Linked DNA regions of Homo sapiens: regions 1, 2, 3, 4, 5 and 6 are each linked to region 7. Evidence: promoter capture Hi-C in 16 types of primary human blood cells and fetal thymus (Javierre and others, 2016). All regions are on one chromosome and are shown on one strand. The core of a region is centred on a gene start or on the middle of the fragment in contact, and the rest is flanking DNA. Distances in the headings are between cores, read along the strand shown. Region 1 has its middle 2.1 kb from the start of TRQ-TTG3-1. Region 2 holds the start of BTN3A2 (butyrophilin subfamily 3 member A2). Region 3 holds the start of H1-3 (H1.3 linker histone, cluster member). Region 4 holds the start of TRS-AGA2-1 (tRNA-Ser (anticodon AGA) 2-1). Region 5 holds the start of BTN2A2 (butyrophilin subfamily 2 member A2). Region 6 overlaps LOC124901287 (a long non-coding RNA gene). Region 7 holds the start of H1-5 (H1.5 linker histone, cluster member).

What was found. The method cuts DNA at HindIII sites, captures the fragments that hold promoters and counts their contacts. A CHiCAGO score of 5 or more calls a contact.
Region 1: a fragment that was not itself captured here is called in contact with the fragment with the promoter of H1-5 in region 7 in 12 of 17 cell types (monocytes, total B cells, fetal thymus and 9 more); the score reaches 13.1 in monocytes.
Region 2: the fragment with the promoter of BTN3A2 here is called in contact with the fragment with the promoter of H1-5 in region 7 in 14 of 17 cell types (activated CD4 T cells, naive CD8 T cells, total CD4 T cells and 11 more); the score reaches 19.0 in activated CD4 T cells.
Region 3: a fragment that was not itself captured here is called in contact with the fragment with the promoter of H1-5 in region 7 in 11 of 17 cell types (erythroblasts, fetal thymus, M0 macrophages and 8 more); the score reaches 34.2 in erythroblasts.
Region 4: a fragment that was not itself captured here is called in contact with the fragment with the promoter of H1-5 in region 7 in 1 of 17 cell types (total CD8 T cells); the score reaches 6.8 in total CD8 T cells.
Region 5: a contact is called between the fragment with the promoter of BTN2A2 here and the fragment with the promoter of H1-5 in region 7, in 3 of 17 cell types (naive CD4 T cells, monocytes and M0 macrophages). The highest score is 6.4, in naive CD4 T cells.
Region 6: a contact is called between a fragment that was not itself captured here and the fragment with the promoter of H1-5 in region 7, in 3 of 17 cell types (M0 macrophages, fetal thymus and monocytes). The highest score is 9.4, in M0 macrophages.

What each region holds. Positions count from the first base shown.
Region 1 is chr6:26,307,804-26,310,516 of GRCh38, reverse strand. No RefSeq gene overlaps it. Among named protein-coding and RNA genes, the nearest start is that of TRQ-TTG3-1, 2.1 kb to the left of the region's middle. RefSeq lists a cis regulatory region at 547-661. The HindIII fragment of the contact is 1,578 bases long and covers 497-2,074 here.
Region 2 is chr6:26,363,942-26,366,641 of GRCh38, reverse strand. It overlaps BTN3A2 (butyrophilin subfamily 3 member A2), which reads right to left and starts at 1,444. Exons shown (of 11, transcript NM_007047.5): 1 at 1,290-1,444. RefSeq lists an enhancer at 1,437-1,486. The HindIII fragment of the contact is 4,055 bases long and covers 1-2,700 here.
Region 3 is chr6:26,233,090-26,235,789 of GRCh38, reverse strand. H1-3 (H1.3 linker histone, cluster member) reads left to right here and starts at 803. Exons shown (of 1, transcript NM_005320.3): 1 at 803-1,578. The coding sequence starts at 857. The coding sequence ends at 1,522. It also overlaps the pseudogene H2AC9P. RefSeq lists enhancers at 290-1,277, 1,191-1,600, 2,431-2,480. The HindIII fragment of the contact is 501 bases long and covers 1,105-1,605 here.
Region 4 is chr6:26,326,162-26,328,861 of GRCh38, reverse strand. TRS-AGA2-1 (tRNA-Ser (anticodon AGA) 2-1) reads right to left here and starts at 1,273; the gene lies at 1,192-1,273. It overlaps TRR-ACG1-1 (tRNA-Arg (anticodon ACG) 1-1), which reads right to left and starts at 722; the gene lies at 650-722. The region is part of intron 2 of LOC101928743 (a long non-coding RNA gene); the gene reads left to right. The HindIII fragment of the contact is 3,995 bases long and covers 1-2,700 here.
Region 5 is chr6:26,381,704-26,384,403 of GRCh38, reverse strand. BTN2A2 (butyrophilin subfamily 2 member A2) reads right to left here and starts at 1,296. Exons shown (of 8, transcript NM_006995.5): 1 at 1,223-1,296; 2 at 489-612. The coding sequence starts at 582. RefSeq lists a silencer at 1,358-1,447. The HindIII fragment of the contact is 7,335 bases long and covers 1-2,700 here.
Region 6 is chr6:26,290,437-26,293,136 of GRCh38, reverse strand. The region is part of intron 1 of LOC124901287 (a long non-coding RNA gene); the gene reads right to left. Among named protein-coding and RNA genes, the nearest start is that of TRX-CAT1-2, 5.3 kb to the right of the region's middle. The HindIII fragment of the contact is 1,254 bases long and covers 674-1,927 here.
Region 7 is chr6:27,866,223-27,868,922 of GRCh38, reverse strand. It overlaps H1-5 (H1.5 linker histone, cluster member), which reads left to right and starts at 1,335. Exons shown (of 1, transcript NM_005322.3): 1 at 1,335-2,131. The coding sequence starts at 1,394. The coding sequence ends at 2,074. RefSeq lists enhancers at 1,076-1,145, 1,406-1,515. The HindIII fragment of the contact is 3,270 bases long and covers 1-2,350 here.

The sequences.
Region 1 (2,713 bases), core at 36-2,535, 1.6 Mb after region 7:
AGCCCCCAATCTCAGTTTCTTCCTTTTCTAGAGCCTATTTAAAGCGTCCCATCTGCTTCTAAGCACTAACACTGTCCTTAAAATGTTTGGACTGCACAGCACTGCAGTTGTACACATCTTAGAGCCTCTGCCGTTTGTACTCAGTTGGGGCGCCATCCAAACTCCTTAAGCTAATGCATTGTCCACATTATTTGAAAGATTAGCTGGTATGTTAAAAGTACACATCAGTCTTTCAGTAGGGATTCAATTTCCATGTCCTGGTGACTTAATGGCTAGCACCTAGGCTTCAAATTTCAGTGGACCTGTCTCAGTTTTGGTGACCTTGCTCTTGAGTTTACCCAAATGGAGAAGCACACTTGGGCATGTATAGATAGTCTCACATATTTGCACTTCTTTTCTGGAGCAACATCCCGCTTCTTGCTCTTTTCTCTGGCTACTGAAAGTTGTCCACTGCCCATCACCCTCATGTATCCTAGAAGCTCTTCTTTTGAAAGCTTTGCTTTGCTTTGCTGGAGCCTGAAGTCAGTTAGACCACTGTAAGTTAATCATCTGCTGGGATGAGTAAAGGTTCATGTGTCAGAGGCCCCACCTATGACTTTTTTCTTCTTCAGAGCTCACTCCGAATGCTCTCTATGCTATCTCTGGACTCGGGCATGAATATGTGCAAACCACAAATTGAGTCATCTGAGAACCTGCATTTTTCTCCCTATGAGAAGCTATTAGTGTTCCTTACATTGAATCTATGCCCATTTTAAAGGTTAACTGACCAGATGCAATAGTATACAAGTCTTCCCTAGAACCTTTGTTATACAAAGATACCATGGTATAACGGTTAACACTCTGGACTCCAAATACAGAAATCCCAACTGTTGGTGGGACTCTAAATTCCTTCTGTTGACTCTCTCTACAGTTCAAAACATATCCTCCAGGGCTCTCAATGACAACAAAAGTGAGCTCCATGAACTCCTCTGGCCTCTAAAAATTGTTCCAGAAAAAAGCCCTGTAGACTTCTTTCTGCCTGTTTAGCCCTATTCATGGTACTATCTTAGTGGCTTTTTATTAGCTTCCTATTGCTTACCACAAATTTGGTGGTTTAAGACAATATGAATTTATTTTTTGTTATTTATTTATTTGTTTTTGAGACAGAGTCTTGCTCTGTCGCCCAGGCTGGAGTGCAATGGCACAATCTCATCTCACTGCAACCTCCACCTCCCGGGTTCAAGACATTCTCCTGCCTCAGCCTCCTGAGTAGCTGGGATTACAGGCACCCGCCACAAAGCCCGGCTAATTTTTTGTACTTTTAGTAGGGACGGGGTTTCACTATGTTGGCCAGGCTTGTCTCGACCTCCTGACCTTGATCTGACCGCCTCAACCTCCCAAAGTGCTGGGGTTACAGGCGTGAGCCACCGCATCCGGCCTATTTATTTTTTAAAATAGGGTCTTACACTATCACTCAGGCTGGACTGTAGTGGCACAATCATAGCTCATTGCAGCCTCAAACTCCTGGGTTCAAGTAATCGTTCCCTGTCAGCCTCCCAAGTAGCTAGGACTGCAGGTGCACACCACCATCCCTGGCTAAGACAACGTGAATTAAATGTTTTTTTGCAGTTTTGGATATCAGAAGTCTACAATAAAAGTATTAGCAGGGCTGTGTATCTTCTGGAGACATCATGAGATAATTCATTTTCCTGGCGTTTTCAGCTTCTAGTGGCCCCTTCCTTGCATCACTTCTTGCTTCTGTAGTCACATTTTCTTTTCCTGACTCTGAACCTCCTGCCTTCCTTTTATAGGACCCTCTTGATTACATTGGACCCACTTAGATAATCCAAGATAATCTCCCCATCTCAAAATCTTCAATGAAATCCCATCTGCAAAATTCCTTTGACCACTTAAGGTAACATAAGGTAACTTATTCACAGGTTCTGGTGATTGGTTGTGGACCTATTTTGGGGGTCATTATTTAGCCTACCATACCCTTTATTAATAAATAGCAGGCATTTGTTAATGCTCTTTAGATTTAATCTATTGGTCATGGCTTTTTTAAAAAAGATAATGTATAGATTTACACCAAGCTTATACACAAGTCTTTCAATAGGAGAATCTTATGGAAAGGGTCTATGATGTAATGATTAGCATCTGAACTCAGACTTGGCAAATTTATGGCAATGATGTCTTGTATTTTTACATTCTCAACTATACTCCCTTTCAGCCATAGGATCCACTGCTCTCTGGCTGATCAGGCCTTCCTGCATGTATTAGTTATCTGTTGTATAACAAATTGCACCCAAATTGGCAGCTTAAAACAACAGACACATATCTCACATGAGATATCATGAAAGTAATATCCTATCACATTTTTTATATTCTGTAGGTTAGGAGCAGGTCACTAGATCCAGCCAACATTCAAAGGGAGGAGTTTACACAGGAAGTGTGGCCACCACACTGTTAAACACTGTAAAGACCTCAGGGCAGAATAAGCCCTAATTGGAGCTGGTCTAATGCTATGACTGATATTTTGCAGACACCTTCTTTTGCTTGGTCAGGAAGTGCTGTATTGGGAGCAATTCCTGGTACCTTTTGGATTGGGAAAATTATCTCTTGCCTCACCTTTTTAAAACTAGTTTTCCATTGTGTATCTTCCTTTATGATCAAGCCAGTATTGAAGAGCTTGACTGCTACTCTCTTTTAATATCATGACTGAACAAGTGAATTA
Region 2 (2,700 bases), core at 195-2,694, 1.5 Mb after region 7:
CCACATCTTCTGCTCCTCGAAACTGCTCTTTATTCTCCTAAGGAGAAGGAGGTATTATTAAGCTAAGCTAAAAATTTCTCTGCTGTCCTCAGAGGGAGAACTTTTATTTTTTAGGTTATTTATTATTCATTCTTTCTACTATAGACAATTTTGCCAAAGAAAAAAATATAAAGGAATAAAACCTTAAATACTCTGTAGTTATATACTTTGCTAATGGAAGTGGAAATGTTTCTGGAAGCATTTGGCCATGTACACATGGCAAGTGCCTTTAAAATGTTGTATTATTTGCCCCCAAAATTCCAACTATAAAAGTTAGTGTTGAAGAAAAAAATTTAGAGATTGATGCAAATATTTATGGATAAGGCTGTTCAATCTAGTAAAATCTACAGTAACAAAATGTAGAAACTGAAAAATCCAAAATAAAGAGTTTTAAAAATAATTCGGGTTTTTTATTTGTTTGTTTGTTCTTTTTTCTTCTTTAGGAGCGGCTTTCTGAGTCAGAGTAGGCTCACAGAGACTCCCAATAATTATATATTCATACAATGTAGTAGCTTGTAACCATGGGAAATCATGCTTTAGGTTTTGGGGAAATGATGAATGGAAAGAAAACCAAGTACTATCCCTAAAAGATACCAAAAATGGTTTAATATAAGGATCCAGTGTTATTAAAATTATAAAGAATTTCACTTAATTAAAATTATGATTCCTAATGGTTACATGGAACATGTTTTATGACTGAACCATGCATTGTTTGTCTATTCCCCACCTGTTGAATATGTATGTTGGTTCAGATTTTACTATATTATAAATACTTCTGTAATAAACACATTTACATATAAATCTATGAGGCACATCTCTTTTTTCTTCTTCTTCTTCAGAATTTCTCAGAATAGATGCCTTGAGTTGGCCAGAACAGATTTTAAGGGTTTTTTGTTTGTTTGTTTGTTTGCCCTTTTCTGACCACAATACGTTAAGAACATGCAGTTGGAATATTTCTTCATTCATGTTGTCTCCCTTTCCTTCCACTAAATCCCAACCTCTGCAGTTCCTTATACTTTGCAGTACTTCTCCCGTCTTCCCACGTGCCCATATGTGCATGTGCGAGTGTGCACATGTACACATGTACACACACACACACACACACACACACACACACACACACACACAGGCACTGCACCCCTTTCTCTGGGAGAGTACTCTCCCTGCATGCCCACTCACCACTCTCAGCGATTCAGCCCCGCTCCTCCCATGCGTTGTAGCCCAGGCTCTAATCAATTTCCTGCACTTACCCCTTGGTATTCCCATTGGAGAATCAGAGCCCACAGAATAAAGACGGTCAATCAATAATTCTCCATTCTTTCTATTATGGCTTAGCCTCTCATCCGGAAGAAAGGAAAAAGAGAAAGCAAATATTGTCTTCTCACCATGAGAAACAGTAAGAGTCGCTCTTTGGAAGAATTAGTTTTTTGATTGGCTCAGAGGTGATGTTTCTCATCAGTTGCTGGGCAGAAACCACTGAGGAACGTTGAAATGAAAACTGAAAGTACATTGAATTGTACACGTTGAGGAAAAACTCCAGCCCTACCTCCCTTAGTGTTTGTGTTTCTGTGTTTATCTATTTGAATCATTCTTGTGCGTGGATGTATATAAGTATTTCTTTATATTCACCTGTCTCGTGTCTTTTACATGGTAATAGAAATATTAGCAGAATGGAGTAGGAAAGTAAAAAAATTTAATGTGCAAAGAGAGGAAGATGTGCACTAATTAAGATGCTTCTGTGGCAGTTTGCTTGCATGTAGATAGGTACGTAGAAGAGGAGGATCTTTTTTACAGAGCCTAATAAAGGTATGAATGGAAAGAAAATGAGACAAACTGCACCTCTTTAAGAACTTCTGGCATTTAGGCTTAGGATATGGTATCAAATAATATAATTTTTCTGATTTCCAGAGGCAGTGCTGCTTGACATTGTTTTACCTTTCCCAGGAAATTCTTACTGCAGATCTTTCTGAGCATCTTCATTCACCCTCAGCTCCTGGTTTGTGCTATATTGTATTTTCTTGGGTATTTGTTTCTCACGCTGCCAGTGGAGTACATATTCTCTGAAGCTAGACACTCCATAGGCTGTGGTCTCTGTAAGGCTCGTTTCCTGTACACCATCTCTGTAAGGAGTTTATGGGACAATCTTGTTCTCCCTGTGGCTTACGACCTCAAAACACACTTTTTTGGGCTGCAAGCCAGAAATCTCCTAGAGCTAATATGTGACTGGAGCTGATGGGATTTGATTATATTGCAACAGTTTGAATTTAGGCTGTGTGGTATCTGCTTGAGATGGCTGGTTGCTTCTGCAGCGTGCATGCCCCCTTCTTCTTAGTGACAAGGCCTAATTTTCTGGGGTACTGCATCCTGCTCTTCCCCCTTGAAGATAGGGCAGGCCAAGGGACTAAGTTGGAGCCAGCGGTTTGTAGGTGAAAGTTGTGGGCTTGTACTTCTCCCAGAAATCCTTCAAAGGGAGGCCAAAATAGCTGGGAGTGTGAGGGTACACTCTCCCTTCTTCCTTCTTCCTCTTGCCTAGAACATGGACTTTGGACCCGGAGGTGCAGTAGCCCACCCTGGGACCATGAGGCAGCCTTGAGGTTGGAAGCCACACACTGGGACAGCAGAGAATGAAGTCAGAAGCAGGCTGGGGCATGAATGACATAT
Region 3 (2,700 bases), core at 106-2,605, 1.6 Mb after region 7:
TCAGTTTTCTTTTTTGGGGATGTGGTAGTTGATCTTTAATGCCCATTCTAGATCGGAAAAATCCATGATCCTAACTTTTAAGAGAAGGTTGGTAACTCTACTTAGGACTTTTTTTTCTGTAAGAGGAATAATGTAGCCTCACCCTTATCTTTCTGGAAATGTTTAAACCACTGAAATATGGAGATCAAATCCAGCTTACACACTGGTAACTCAAATACTATTTTTTTTTTTAAACTATCTTTTCTAAACTAATCACCCCTCTTGTACATAGAACTTTCTACCTCAGTGCCAATTCCTAGAGGTTGATGCAAACAGCTCGCCAGAGAGCCTGTGCTATTGTTCCTGCGAAAAAACCCAATTTCCCTGCACATTTGGATAAAAATGAGTTTATCTATATAAAGTTGAGACGGTAAGAATTCACAGAACAATGCCCTGGAAGAGAGATTTGCAAATGAAAGAGGGAGAAATAGTATTTTTAAGGAAAACATGAAAGTTGTCTCGATTTGACCGAAGTTTGAAAGAGAGTTGGGGGAATAAGAAAAGTTTCAAGATGCCGGTTTTAAAACTATGCATAGAAACAAAGGCAGGAATGAAGCCCGAACTCTCTCGGATCAGTTTCCCCCAAGTCTCTAATTATTTCATGCCCAGATTTCTTATATTTTTACTCTTTTTTAAGGGGCAACAAACACAGCAGCGCGGTAGATACGAGGAGTCCTTTTCCAGCAGCGCCGCGCATGGAGCAAGGAACCAATCATCACTCAGCGTCTCTCTATATAAACCCTCAGCCTCCCTCGTAGAGGACATGCTGTTCTGACAGTTTGAGATTACTTATTGTCTTTTCTGGGAAGACAAAAACATGTCGGAGACTGCTCCACTTGCTCCTACCATTCCTGCACCCGCAGAAAAAACACCTGTGAAGAAAAAGGCGAAGAAGGCAGGCGCAACTGCTGGGAAACGCAAAGCATCCGGACCCCCAGTATCTGAGCTTATCACCAAGGCAGTGGCAGCTTCTAAGGAGCGCAGCGGCGTTTCTCTGGCCGCGCTTAAGAAAGCGCTTGCGGCTGCTGGCTACGATGTAGAAAAAAACAACAGCCGTATCAAGCTTGGCCTCAAGAGCTTGGTGAGCAAAGGTACTCTGGTGCAGACCAAAGGTACCGGTGCTTCTGGCTCCTTCAAACTCAACAAGAAAGCGGCTTCCGGGGAAGGCAAACCCAAGGCCAAAAAGGCTGGCGCAGCCAAGCCTAGGAAGCCTGCTGGGGCAGCCAAGAAGCCCAAGAAGGTGGCTGGCGCCGCTACCCCGAAGAAAAGCATCAAAAAGACTCCTAAGAAGGTAAAGAAGCCAGCAACCGCTGCTGGGACCAAGAAAGTGGCCAAGAGTGCGAAAAAGGTGAAAACACCTCAGCCAAAAAAAGCTGCCAAGAGTCCAGCTAAGGCCAAAGCCCCTAAGCCCAAGGCGGCCAAGCCTAAGTCGGGGAAGCCGAAGGTTACAAAGGCAAAGAAGGCAGCTCCGAAGAAAAAGTGAAACTGGCGGGACGTTCCCCTTTGAAAATTTTAAACGGCTCTTTTCAGAGCCACCCACAGGTCTCAGTCAAAAGAGCTGAAGCTTTTTGGAGGGGGGAGTGGGGTGGAGAGGGGTGCGGGTGCTGCGGTGTTGTGCGGCCACGGTCTATCCTAGTCGTGCTGGTTGGGGGTCAGTTATTAACAGCTCCCAGCAGCCTGGGCGCAAGGATCCTTCCGTCTCAGTCTCAGCCACAGTCACCGGATAGCTAAGGCTACTTGAGCCACCAGGTCCTACTTTTTCTTCAAATTCCCGCGGTGGTGTGTGATTGGCCGGCCGATTTCTGTTAAAGCGCGGCGCTTAAAAGTGGCCCTGAAAAAATTTTATTTCTGACACAGGGATGTGGTGTAAATGCTTTAGTTTACTTTAGCGTTGAGGTGACTTCCTGAGCACATCCCGTCCTGGTTGTGAGCAGTACGTGGCATGCCCAAGGTGCTTCCGGCCCACGATCTTGTGCAGCTGGTCGTTGAGAATGGCCAACTGCTGGTGGTGCCCGGTGTCTGTCTTTTCGCAGGCCTTTGATAAGCCTTAGCTTTGGGATATCGGCCCTCAGGTACTGTATTTGTAAATAGTGTGGGGGCTGCACTGCGTGACGAGGTGGCTCTCCTGTAATCCCAGCATTTTGGGAGGCCGAGGCGGGGGCATCACGAGGTCAGGAGTTCGAGGCCAGCCTGAAGAACATGGTGAAGCCCCATCTCTGCTAAAAAAAAATACAAAAATTAGTCAGGCGTGGTGCCGCGCGCCTGTAATTCCAGCTACTTGGGGGCTGAGGTAGAAAATCACTTGAACCCGGGAGGCGGAAGTTGTAAGCCGAGATCGCGCCACTTGCACTCCGGCCTGGGCGATAGAACGAGACTCCGTCTCAAAATAAAAAGTGTGCCCATTGTCTTTTTCTGTCAGTGGCCAGCGTCTCCAGGACTTATTTTCCCAGGGGCTCTCTTGCTTGTTCATTTATTTCTGCCTACTCTTAACCTCCTAGCACTGCCGCCAGGTAACACTAGCATGCTGGTCCAACCCGCTCGGAGTAGCTGTATTTGCGGAGGACGCGGTGTATTAGCCCTACTGGCAACTGTAGGCCCGCGTGGCAAAGCAGGTCTTGCTTTTGGCGCGAGTGTGGTCTTGCTTCCCACGTCCAGGTAATG
Region 4 (2,700 bases), core at 78-2,577, 1.5 Mb after region 7:
ATAGAAAAGAAACCAAAATTGTTTGCTATCTAGAAATTTTCTGTTTGTGAATTCTCAATCGTAACTCTCACAGAATGACACAAGGTTTTCCCAAACGGACGTGGTGGCTCACGCCTGTAATCTAGCACTTTGGGAGGGCGAGGCGGGCTGATCACTTGAGATCAGGAGTTCCAGACCAGCCTGGCCAACATGGCGAAACCTCCTCTCTATTAAAAATACAAAAATAATTAGCTGGGTGTCGTGGCACATGCCTGTAATCCCAGCTACTCTGGAGGCTGAGGCTAGGAGAATCGCTTGAACTCAGGAAGCAGAGGTTGCGGTGAGCTGAGATCGCGCCACTGCTCTGCAGCCTGGGCGACACAGTGATACATCTCAAAAAAAGAAAAAAAAATTCCCCTGTATTAAGTTTTATCAAGCAATGTGAAAATTGGTCAGTTCTGAAACTTATCAATTTAGTGATGTGATTTAAAAAAAAAAAACTCTTATGTATGTAAAACAATAGTGAACTGAAGCTGGAGTCTATATTATAAAAATTTTTGTCATCTTGTGTAATTCTTTTAAAAATTAAAATGATAAAATACATAAAATGTATATGAGTGCCCAGGGAAGGGGCATTTATGTAAACCTCAAAGTTTCCACTAAAGTCGAACGAGCCAGCCAGGAGTCGAACCTGGAATCTTCTGATCCGTAGTCAGACGCGTTATCCATTGCGCCACTGGCCCTCTGACGAACGAAGACAGGCGTTATACCTATAGAAAAAAACGTTTTGGGATTACCGCGTCCTCCTATACATGAATATATGAAATTTTATTTCTTTCTGATCATAAGGATTTTGAACCCAAAACCCTCCAATTAAAACAAAATATAGTTTTATTTGTTCCTTTGACTTGTTTTACTCATGAAGTATGATTCCTTCGTGGGTAATGAGAAATCCATCCTTGTGCACAATGATTCCTTCCTGAACAATGAAATATCCATTATGATGTAACTTGTAAAAGATCAGAGATAAGGTTTACTTTGGGCAATGAGAAATCCATTTTGAGGACCTCTGAGACATAAATTGAAATTGTCCTGCCCTGAATCCCCAAGAAATCCATTTTGATGTTAACTTGTAAAAGATCGAAAGCCTTTTTACACGTGAAATATCGATCGGTCGGATGAAACCTGCTTGAAGATGCAAAAACCCACTGCCGTAGTCGGCAGGATTCGAACCTGCGCGGGGAGACCCCAATGGATTTCTAGTCCATCGCCTTAACCACTCGGCCACGACTACAGATACCAAAAACCTTATTAAATGTCTTACATGTTTCCATACATCACATATTGTACTCCTTTTATTAGGGATTTAATAATAGCTGAATTCGTATCTTAAGAATAAAACTTGGAAGCAATCAACAAACTTCAAATTCAGGCACATACATGATACGCTAAGAATGTTCTTTGGGTCTTTTTTATAATGCAAATCAGGAATATGTTTCAACAACTTTTACAATTCTCATATTTTTGCCTAGTAAGAAAATTATCCTCAGGCCGGGCGCGGTGGCTCACGCCTGTAATCCCAGCACTTTGGAAGGCCAAGGCGGGTAGATCATGAGGTCAGGAGTTTGAAACTGCCCAACATGGCGAAACCCCGTCTGTACTAAAAATACAAAAAAATTAGCCAAGGTGGTGGTGCACGCCTGTAATCTCAGCTACTCGGGAGACTGAGGCAGGAGAATCGCTTGAACCCAGGAGGCGGAGTTTACAGTGAGCCGAGATCGCGCCATTGCACTCCAGCCAGGGCGACAGAGCAAGACTCCGTCTCGGGGGTAAAAAAAAAATAAAAAATAGATTAAAAAAATAAAAAGAAAGAAAATTATCCTCAGTAAATAACACTGATGTTCCACAGAGATCCCCTATATTTTCTGACAAAGTCCAGTGCCTGCGATATACTAACGGCTCAACAAATGTCAGTACAATTGTAACTATCATTGTAAAACCCCAGAATCTAGATTCATCAAAAGGTTCTTCAGTGAAGATAGGCTTCTGTCTTTTCATAAAACTCAGAATATTTTAACCAGCTGAAAGAACATTTCTGAAAGAAACTAGAAAGTAAAAAATATTTTTGCTGGTCAAATCCTCTTTCGTTTATGGGGCCTTCTCTCACAAGGGGAAGAACAACTGCATCTGATATTCTGTGAATAGTTTGAAATTATATTCAAAGACCACTTCCAAAGGAAGAGCAGAACCCCAGGTTCTAAAACTGCACTACCATTACCACAATACTATGCGTGTGTGTGTGTGTGAGTATTAGTGAGCAAGTCAGGGATTCTGTATTTCATCAATGGCCCAACTCTATGAACAGAAGAAGGGTAAGGAATGATTGATGAACTACTGCTCATGTGCGGATGGATTGAAAATCGTCTCTACTCCAGATCTCTCTCCTCTGGGCTCCAGAATATACAGTTGTCCTATTTTTTTTTCTTGCATGTCCATGGGCATCTCAAAAGCAATGCAACCCCAAAGGAATGTTCCATCATTTTCCTCAAACTTAAATTTCCTCCAACAATCCAAATTTTTGATGAGATACCAAAACCGAAGACTGGCTACCAAGACCGAAGACTACCCTTGTCCTTTTATGTCTCTCTGATTCCCTTCCCAGCAGGCCCTCAATTCAACCTTCTAATTAGCTCTCAAATCTGGCTCTTCTTCCCCAGCCCT
Region 5 (2,700 bases), core at 47-2,546, 1.5 Mb after region 7:
GGCCAAAGTGGGAGGATCCTTAACAGCTAGGAGTTTGAGACCAGCCTGGGCAAAATAGTGAGACCCTGTCTCTACAAAAAATAAAACTTAGTCGAGTGTGGTGGCCCTTGCTTGTACTCTCAGCTACTTGGGAGGCTGAGATGGGAGGATCCCTTGAGCCCAGGAGTTTCAGGTTACAGTGAGTTATGATCTCATTCTCCATCTGCTTCATTCCGGCCTGGCAACAGAGCAATATACTCTCTCTTAAATAAATAAACAAATAAATAAAAAGTTAAAAAAATCTTTTTGAAGATTTGCACTTGTATATGCACTTGACCTTTGTGCTTCACTGTGTTTCTTTTGGACAGTGCTGGTATAAATTCAGTGAACATGTTCAGAATGAAAGGATAAGTCAACAACCCCACAGTTCTTCCTTCTTTCCCTTTGCAGACTACAGGGTTGATGTTCCTTTCTGAGAGGTGACAGCAGCAAGTGACACACATCCCTACCTGAGACCAGTGCACACAGGCTGAGAAGGAGGAGGAGCAGGAGGAGGAGGAGGGAGGCTGGCAGGGAGAAGTGCAGAGCAGCAGCTGGTTCCATGAGCACCCAGGGCAGGCAGAGACCAGAGGCCTAGGGTTACAGAGGAGGAGAATCAGCCTAGGAGTCTTGGCACCTCAGTGCTGGTCGGGCCCAACCTCTCCTGTCACTCAAGTAGGTCTCATCGGTGCCCCAACTTCTGGGAGTCGCTTGCATCTCAAGGCTCAGGTATCTCCGAAAGAGGGATTCCGTAAACATTCCATAAGTAAGCCATCAATGCAGAGATCAAGGGGGCCGTTTTCCTCCTTCCTCTTCCCACTTCTCGGGCCACAGTCCGGTTTCTTCAGTTGTCCCTGGATTCTTTCACACCCTCGTCCCTCCACTTCCCCCTCCCCGAGACCCAGGTCGGGACACTCGAGGTAAAGCCAGGCGAGGCTGCGCCTCCCCACCAGTAGGCTTCCTGTCTCCCAGGTCCCCCTCTCCTCTCCAGAGCAGATCCCGCTCCCCGCACCTACCGCCCCCAGCTACCGCCCCCACCCCGGAGCTGTAGCGCCTCCTCTCCCTTTCCTACCTTCTAGAACTAACCTCTGTTTTCTTTTCCCCTCTGATCCTCACATGACGATTTTCCGATACAACTCACCCATGGGCACAGTCACCACCAGACAACAAAGCATCCCAAAGAGAAGAGAAAAGCTGTGTTCACCTCCTATTAATCGCGATGTTTGGAGTTGCGGACTCGGTATCTGGGACCTGTTCTCTGGGTGTCCAAAAAGTCCCAAGATTTCCACTGAGCAGTTTAGAGCCCAGGATTGGCCGAGTGAGGCTGAACCAACCAATGGTGTCTCGAGCCTTATTTCTCAGCTGTTACTAGGTAGAATACACACACAAAAACCCCCCAAAAATCTCAAGCAGCAAATAACCTTTTGGGATTATTAGGTATTTCTATTTCCTTTTTCTGTCTTTGGAAGCAAGACTTTTTTCCTTTATTTTCCTTTCTTCCTTCCTTTCTTCCTTCCTTCCTTGCTTCCTTCTTTCCTTTCTCATTCTCTTTTTCTTTCTTTCTTTCTTTCATATGTCTCTCTCTCACTTTATTCTTTCTTTCTTTCTCGCTTTCTTTCTTTTTTCTTCCTTCCTTCCTTCCTCTCTCTTCCTTTCTCTCTTTCTCTTCCTTCTCTTCTCCTTCCTTTCTTTCTTTCTCTTTCTTTCTTTCTTTCTTTCTTTCTTTCTTTCTTTCTTTCTTTCTTTCTTTCTTTCTTTCTTTCCTTCTCTCTCTCTCTCTTTCTTTCTTTCCTTCCGTTCTTTTACAAAGCCTTGAGATCCCCAAGGTGTCAGTGGCTTTGCTGGTGTAGACGAGGAGAGGGCTCTCTATGTAGAGTGATTTTGCTGGGGAGGAAACATGAGGAGGAAAACATAAGCCGCCGTCTTTCCAAAGCCAGAGGACTCTTGTTCATGTTGCTGGCTTTGAAGGTTGGGCCTGGTGCGCGGGAGGCCTTGGGGGAAGCAGGCATGGCTGGAGTGGGAGGGGTAGCAAAGGAAAGGTGACAGCAGTTGCAGTGGCTGTTATGAAGGTCTTGTTGTTCACTCCAAAGCTATTGGATAAGACGTGCTGAGAATACTGAGTGAGGATTAAAAACCCTTTCCCACGGGGAGGTGGTATTCTGGTGGAGGCAGAAGATGGAAGTGAGCAAAGACTTTCAGTTGACCTTGACCTTCTGCCAGTAGGTGGTGGGGTTAAGTCCAAGGACCACACACACACACCAGCACACATAACCTCCTCCCCATGAACATAATCCCTCCCCCACAGAATCCAATCTTGTCATTGTATAGATATCTTCCAGAATAATCTTCCCAAGGCCCAGTTGTCAATAATCCCCTCAAATGTCTAAATACTTAGTCTGGAACTGGTGCAGTGGCTCACACCTGTAATCCCAACACTTTGGGAGGAGGAGGCAGGCAGATCACTTGAAGTCAGGAGTTCAAGACCAGCATGGCCAACATGATGAAACCCCGTCTCTACCAAAAAAAAAAAAAAAAAAAAAATTAGCTGGGTGTGGTGGCACATGCCTGTAATCCCAGCTACTCAGGAGGCTGAGGCAGGAGAATGGCTTGAACCTGGGAGGTGGAGGTTAGGGTGAGCTGAGATCATGCCACTGCACTCCAGCCTGGGTGACAAAGTGAGAC
Region 6 (2,700 bases), core at 51-2,550, 1.6 Mb after region 7:
ACAGCATGGGACATGAGACTTAAAAAGGAAACTATTGATAATCCAGGATTTAAAATGTTAAAGAAAATGGGATTCAGAGTGGAAAAGGCTTAGGAAAGCCCCTGCAGGGAAACCCTGATCCAATATCAATAACTGGACAAAACAGAAAAGGGCTAGGTCATCAGGATTTTTGGTGGGGGTCATTGGTATTTCTCCTCCACCCACTGCTTTGCCGCTAGAGTGGCTGACTGACAAACCTGTGTGGGTGGATCAATGGCCCCTATCACAGGAGAAACTGATGCAACTCCATCAGCTAGTGAGAGAGCAACTGGAAGCAGAACATACAGAATAGTCAGCCCCTGGAATTCACCTGTATTTGTGATCCAAAAATGTCAGGAAAATGGCAACTGCTACATGATTTGAGAGCTATTAAATGCACAGATTAAACCAGTGGGTGCATTACAGCAAGGTCTGTCATCCTCAGCAGCCATTCCAAGAGATTGGACTCTTGTAGTAATAGGTCTTAAAGAGTTTTTTTTTTAATATACCATTACACAAAAAGGATAAGCCTCAATTTGCCTTCTCTGTGCCTTCTATTAATCAAAGAGAGCCTGTCTCTCGCTCTCAGTGGAAAGTTTTAGCCCAAGGCATGCTCAACAGTCCTATGTTATGTCAGCATTTTGTAGGAAAAGCTTTAAAGGAGCCTCGCAATATATTTCCCAATGCCTACATCATTCATTATATGGATGATATTCTTTTGGCCGCTCCTACAGATCAAATGTTACATCAGTTATTCAGGGAAATAAAATGAGTCTTGACTGCATGGAATCTCAAAATAGCTCCTGAAAAGGTGCAAACAACCTCCCCATACCAGTACTTAGGTACTATTGTTACTGGAAGAAGTGTTCGGCCTCAGAAAGTAACTCTCTGTAGGGAGAGGGTACAAACTCTGAATGACTTCCAACAATTATTAGGGGATATCAATTGGCTGTGCCTGATGCTAGGTATTGCCATCTACCAACTCACACACCTTTATCAAACCCTCCAAAGAGATTCTTCATTAGATTCTCCTCGGCAACTTACTAACGAGGCAGAAGCTGAGTGACAGCGTGTAGAACAGATCCTTCAGCAACAACATGCCTCCCGGCTACAGCCACAAAAGCCTTTGCTTTTGTTTATTCTTCCTACCCCCCATTCTCCATCAGGATTTTTAGGCCAATTCATAGACAAATCTGTAATGGTAATATAAAGGCTTTTTTTTTTTTTATTCAATCTGACAGTGAAATCTTTGCAAGTTTATCTTTCTTTAATTACTCAACTTATAACAATAGGTAGGCACAGGTAAAAAATGCTTACGGGATATGATCCTGATAAAATTATTGTTCCCTTGGATTCCCAACAACAGGCCGCAGCATGGGAAATGTCGACTGCATGGCAAATTGCTTTTGCAGATTTTGTGGGAATAATAGATAACCATTATCCATCAGACAAGATTTTGCAATTTTATAAAGTTCACCCTTTTATCCTCCCTGTAATTACCCATCACAAGCCCATTCCAGGTGGAAAGACATATTTTACCAATGGCTCTTACAAAGGCCGCACAGCTATTTATGCAACTAAACATACTCAAACAATAAAGATCTCTGGAGTTTCAGCTCAATGCTCAGAGTTAATCGCAGTTATTCAGGTTTTAGAGCTCACGGCTTTATCTCCTATTAATATTGTTTGTGATTCAGCCTATGTTGTAAATGCAGCTAGTTGCATTGAGACTGCCACTATTAAGGGCACCCTAGAACCAGAGCTGCTTAATTTGTTTCTAAGACTTCAGCAAGCTATTCTCTCTTGTGCTGCTCCTATTCGCTCTCATACGCAACTTCCTGGACCACTATCTCAAGGTAATGATAAAGCAGATAAATTAATTGGTTCTGTATTCCAACAAGCCCAAGCTTCCCATGCATTACTGCATCAAAACACCTCTGCCCTTACTCATATGTTTCATCTGCCTTGCAGTCAAGCTCAAGCTATTGTGCAAGCCTGCTCCACTTGTCAGCATGTCCCTGGTGTTGCACCCGTGGAAGGATGCGACCCACGAGGCTTGGCTCCAAATGAAATCTGGCAGATGGATGTTGCACATACAGCAGCCTTTGGCAAACTTAGCTATGTTCATGTGACTATAGACACCTACTCCAATATGTTACATGCCACATGTCAAACAGGGGAAACTGCTGGCCATGTCCAATGGCATTGTTTGTCGTCATTTGCCCATATGGGGGTCTCTAAACAATTAAAAACTGACAATGGACCTGCTTATGTTAGTCATGCTTTTCAAAATTTTTTACAGTTATGGGCAATCATTCATAAAACAGGAATTCCTTACAATCCCCAAGGACAAGGCATTATAGAGCGGGCACATCAAACACTACAGCGTATGTTGAGAAAAAAAGGGGGAATAGGAGACCAGCTACCACCTTAAACAAAATTACATTTAGTCTTGTTTACTTTAAATTTTTTGATGCCTGGTATGGATGGTAAGACTCTAGCAGAACAACATTGGCAAGTGTTAGAGGGAAAGAGGCAAGTTTATCCAAAGGTGTTATGGAAATCCCCAGAAGAAGGACAAAGGAAAGGCCCAGTGGATTTGCTGATGTGGGGATGAGGGTATGCTTGTGTTTTTACAGGAGATGGACAAACTGTGTAGGTGCCCTCCAGGTACGTGCAACC
Region 7 (2,700 bases), core at 86-2,585:
CATAGTCTGCCAACTTCTCCAGGAGTTCTTAGAAGATGAAGTGCATTGGCTACTTTAAATTTTCTTGCACAGCATTTCAAGAATGAGAAATAAGTGACTGTTGATTTCATTAGGAATCCAAATCATCATTTGATCATTTTTATCATCCAGGCATCCTGTCCAATCCCCTCCACCTCCCATAAATTGTAAACTTCATTTATTTCAACCTCAGTGTATTTGCCTATGTTTTCCTGAGTTCCTCTGAACCTCTATAATGTGAAGTCGCTCAATATCCAATCCAACCTTTTCACAGTCAATAGCCAGATATTCTTCTAAAATATTAGCGCTAAAACACACAAAAATACCCATATTGATGTATCCTGGCTGCTCATAGAAGAGAGTATTCCTGATGGTGCAGCTTGTTAAATGTGGGTGGAGATTCAGGGGGAGCAGTGAGAACATTTCGAAAACCTGACAGTGTCCTGGGCCACCTAAACAGTTTGTGCATTTGAGGATCACTGGGAGCTCTTGAATAATTTTCCACAAGTTTGAGTTTTCTCTAAACTGAATTATCTATATTATTTTTCTTCCCCTTTTTTAATGGATTTGCCCAGGAACTAAAAAGAGAAAACACTCTAATTAGAAAACATAACACATTTAAGTTTGAATGTGAATCTGAGTAGTTAGATCCTTAAGTCAAAGCGATTTGTATTACTGGTGCTGCAATGCAGAAGAAGTCACTCTGACTGTGGAACTCTTCCAAGCTGCAAAATCCCATTCTGTAAAGACATTAGCACATGGAAACTCCTAGGACACAGAACCAGTTTGTAAAGTCAAGTCTATGTGGTTAAGTTGGGGCTGTAGGCAACCAGCTGTCCTGTGCCTGTGTTACTTGCTACAGTTAGAAACAAACTTCATGCCCAAACCAAGGAACCCAGTGTCTTTTCTCTTGCAAAAATCAAAGCATGAACTCATGGGCAAATTTTTAAAAATAACTTTCACTGGATACTTAGTAGAAATTTATCGCGACACGCTACTAACTAACATGATGCCCTCAGCCCAATGGATTCTTATGAAAAGCTGAAGGGATTTTTTAAAATATCTTTCATCAATTGCACAAGATTCTTGAAAACACAAACAAGTATGTGAACCTGGAGGCTGTTTTCCTCCTTTGGAGCTTCAAAGTGCCAAATTCTGTACCATTGTTTTAAGCATTTAATCAAATTTTGAGGACTAACAAACACAATTTGGGAGTCCAACCGCGAGCGGCGGCGGCCAGAGGGCGGTGGATTGGACGCTCCACCAATCACAGGGCAGCGCCGGCTTATATAAGCCCGGGGCCCGAGCATAGCAGCAACGCAAAACCTGCTCTTTAGATTTCGAGCTTATTCTCTTCTAGCAGTTTCTTGCCACCATGTCGGAAACCGCTCCTGCCGAGACAGCCACCCCAGCGCCGGTGGAGAAATCCCCGGCTAAGAAGAAGGCAACTAAGAAGGCTGCCGGCGCCGGCGCTGCTAAGCGCAAAGCGACGGGGCCCCCAGTCTCAGAGCTGATCACCAAGGCTGTGGCTGCTTCTAAGGAGCGCAATGGCCTTTCTTTGGCAGCCCTTAAGAAGGCCTTAGCGGCCGGTGGCTACGACGTGGAGAAGAATAACAGCCGCATTAAGCTGGGCCTCAAGAGCTTGGTGAGCAAGGGCACCCTGGTGCAGACCAAGGGCACTGGTGCTTCTGGCTCCTTTAAACTCAACAAGAAGGCGGCCTCCGGGGAAGCCAAGCCCAAAGCCAAGAAGGCAGGCGCCGCTAAAGCTAAGAAGCCCGCGGGGGCCACGCCTAAGAAGGCCAAGAAGGCTGCAGGGGCGAAAAAGGCAGTGAAGAAGACTCCGAAGAAGGCGAAGAAGCCCGCGGCGGCTGGCGTCAAAAAGGTGGCGAAGAGCCCTAAGAAGGCCAAGGCCGCTGCCAAACCGAAAAAGGCAACCAAGAGTCCTGCCAAGCCCAAGGCAGTTAAGCCGAAGGCGGCAAAGCCCAAAGCCGCTAAGCCCAAAGCAGCAAAACCTAAAGCTGCAAAGGCCAAGAAGGCGGCTGCCAAAAAGAAGTAGGAAGCTGGCGTGTGAAAACCGCAACAAAGCCCCAAAGGCTCTTTTCAGAGCCACCCAGAGACCTCTAAAAAATGGCTGTGCACAACATGTTAGATCAGGCAGCAAGATTCCTTGCATTCGAAAAATCTCGGGCAGTTCTCCCTCAACCCTAATCGAGTAACGCAAGGCAAGCAAGAGTCCAGGGTGTTGGTTGGACTCCCCACGTAGTTTACCCATGCAGTCTGTTATTAGAGTATGAATTCCAGCCGTTGGTTTTTGTTAAGTTGGTGTCAAGCTTTTTGTCAGACGCCTAGCTACAAAGAAGCTTCTTATATTTTAAAAAGCCCGCTCTATAATCTGATTGGCCAGTTTTTGTTCCATCATCTGTATGTGGTTTTTCCGCGTTTAAGCCATTTAGGCACCAGCTACTTCGGCGTCACTAATGTGTTCGGCATTAATATAATATGCTATCAACGCACAAGACAATATAGTAGCAAGTTTCAAGATGGGGTCTCTATTACATGCCAATTTGATATGACCGTGTCATTCTGTACTGGATTATTTTTTTTTCCTCAAGTCAGGTTCTCGCTGTCACCCAGGCTGGCGTGCAGTGGCGTGGTCTCGGCTCACTACAGCCTCAGCCTCCC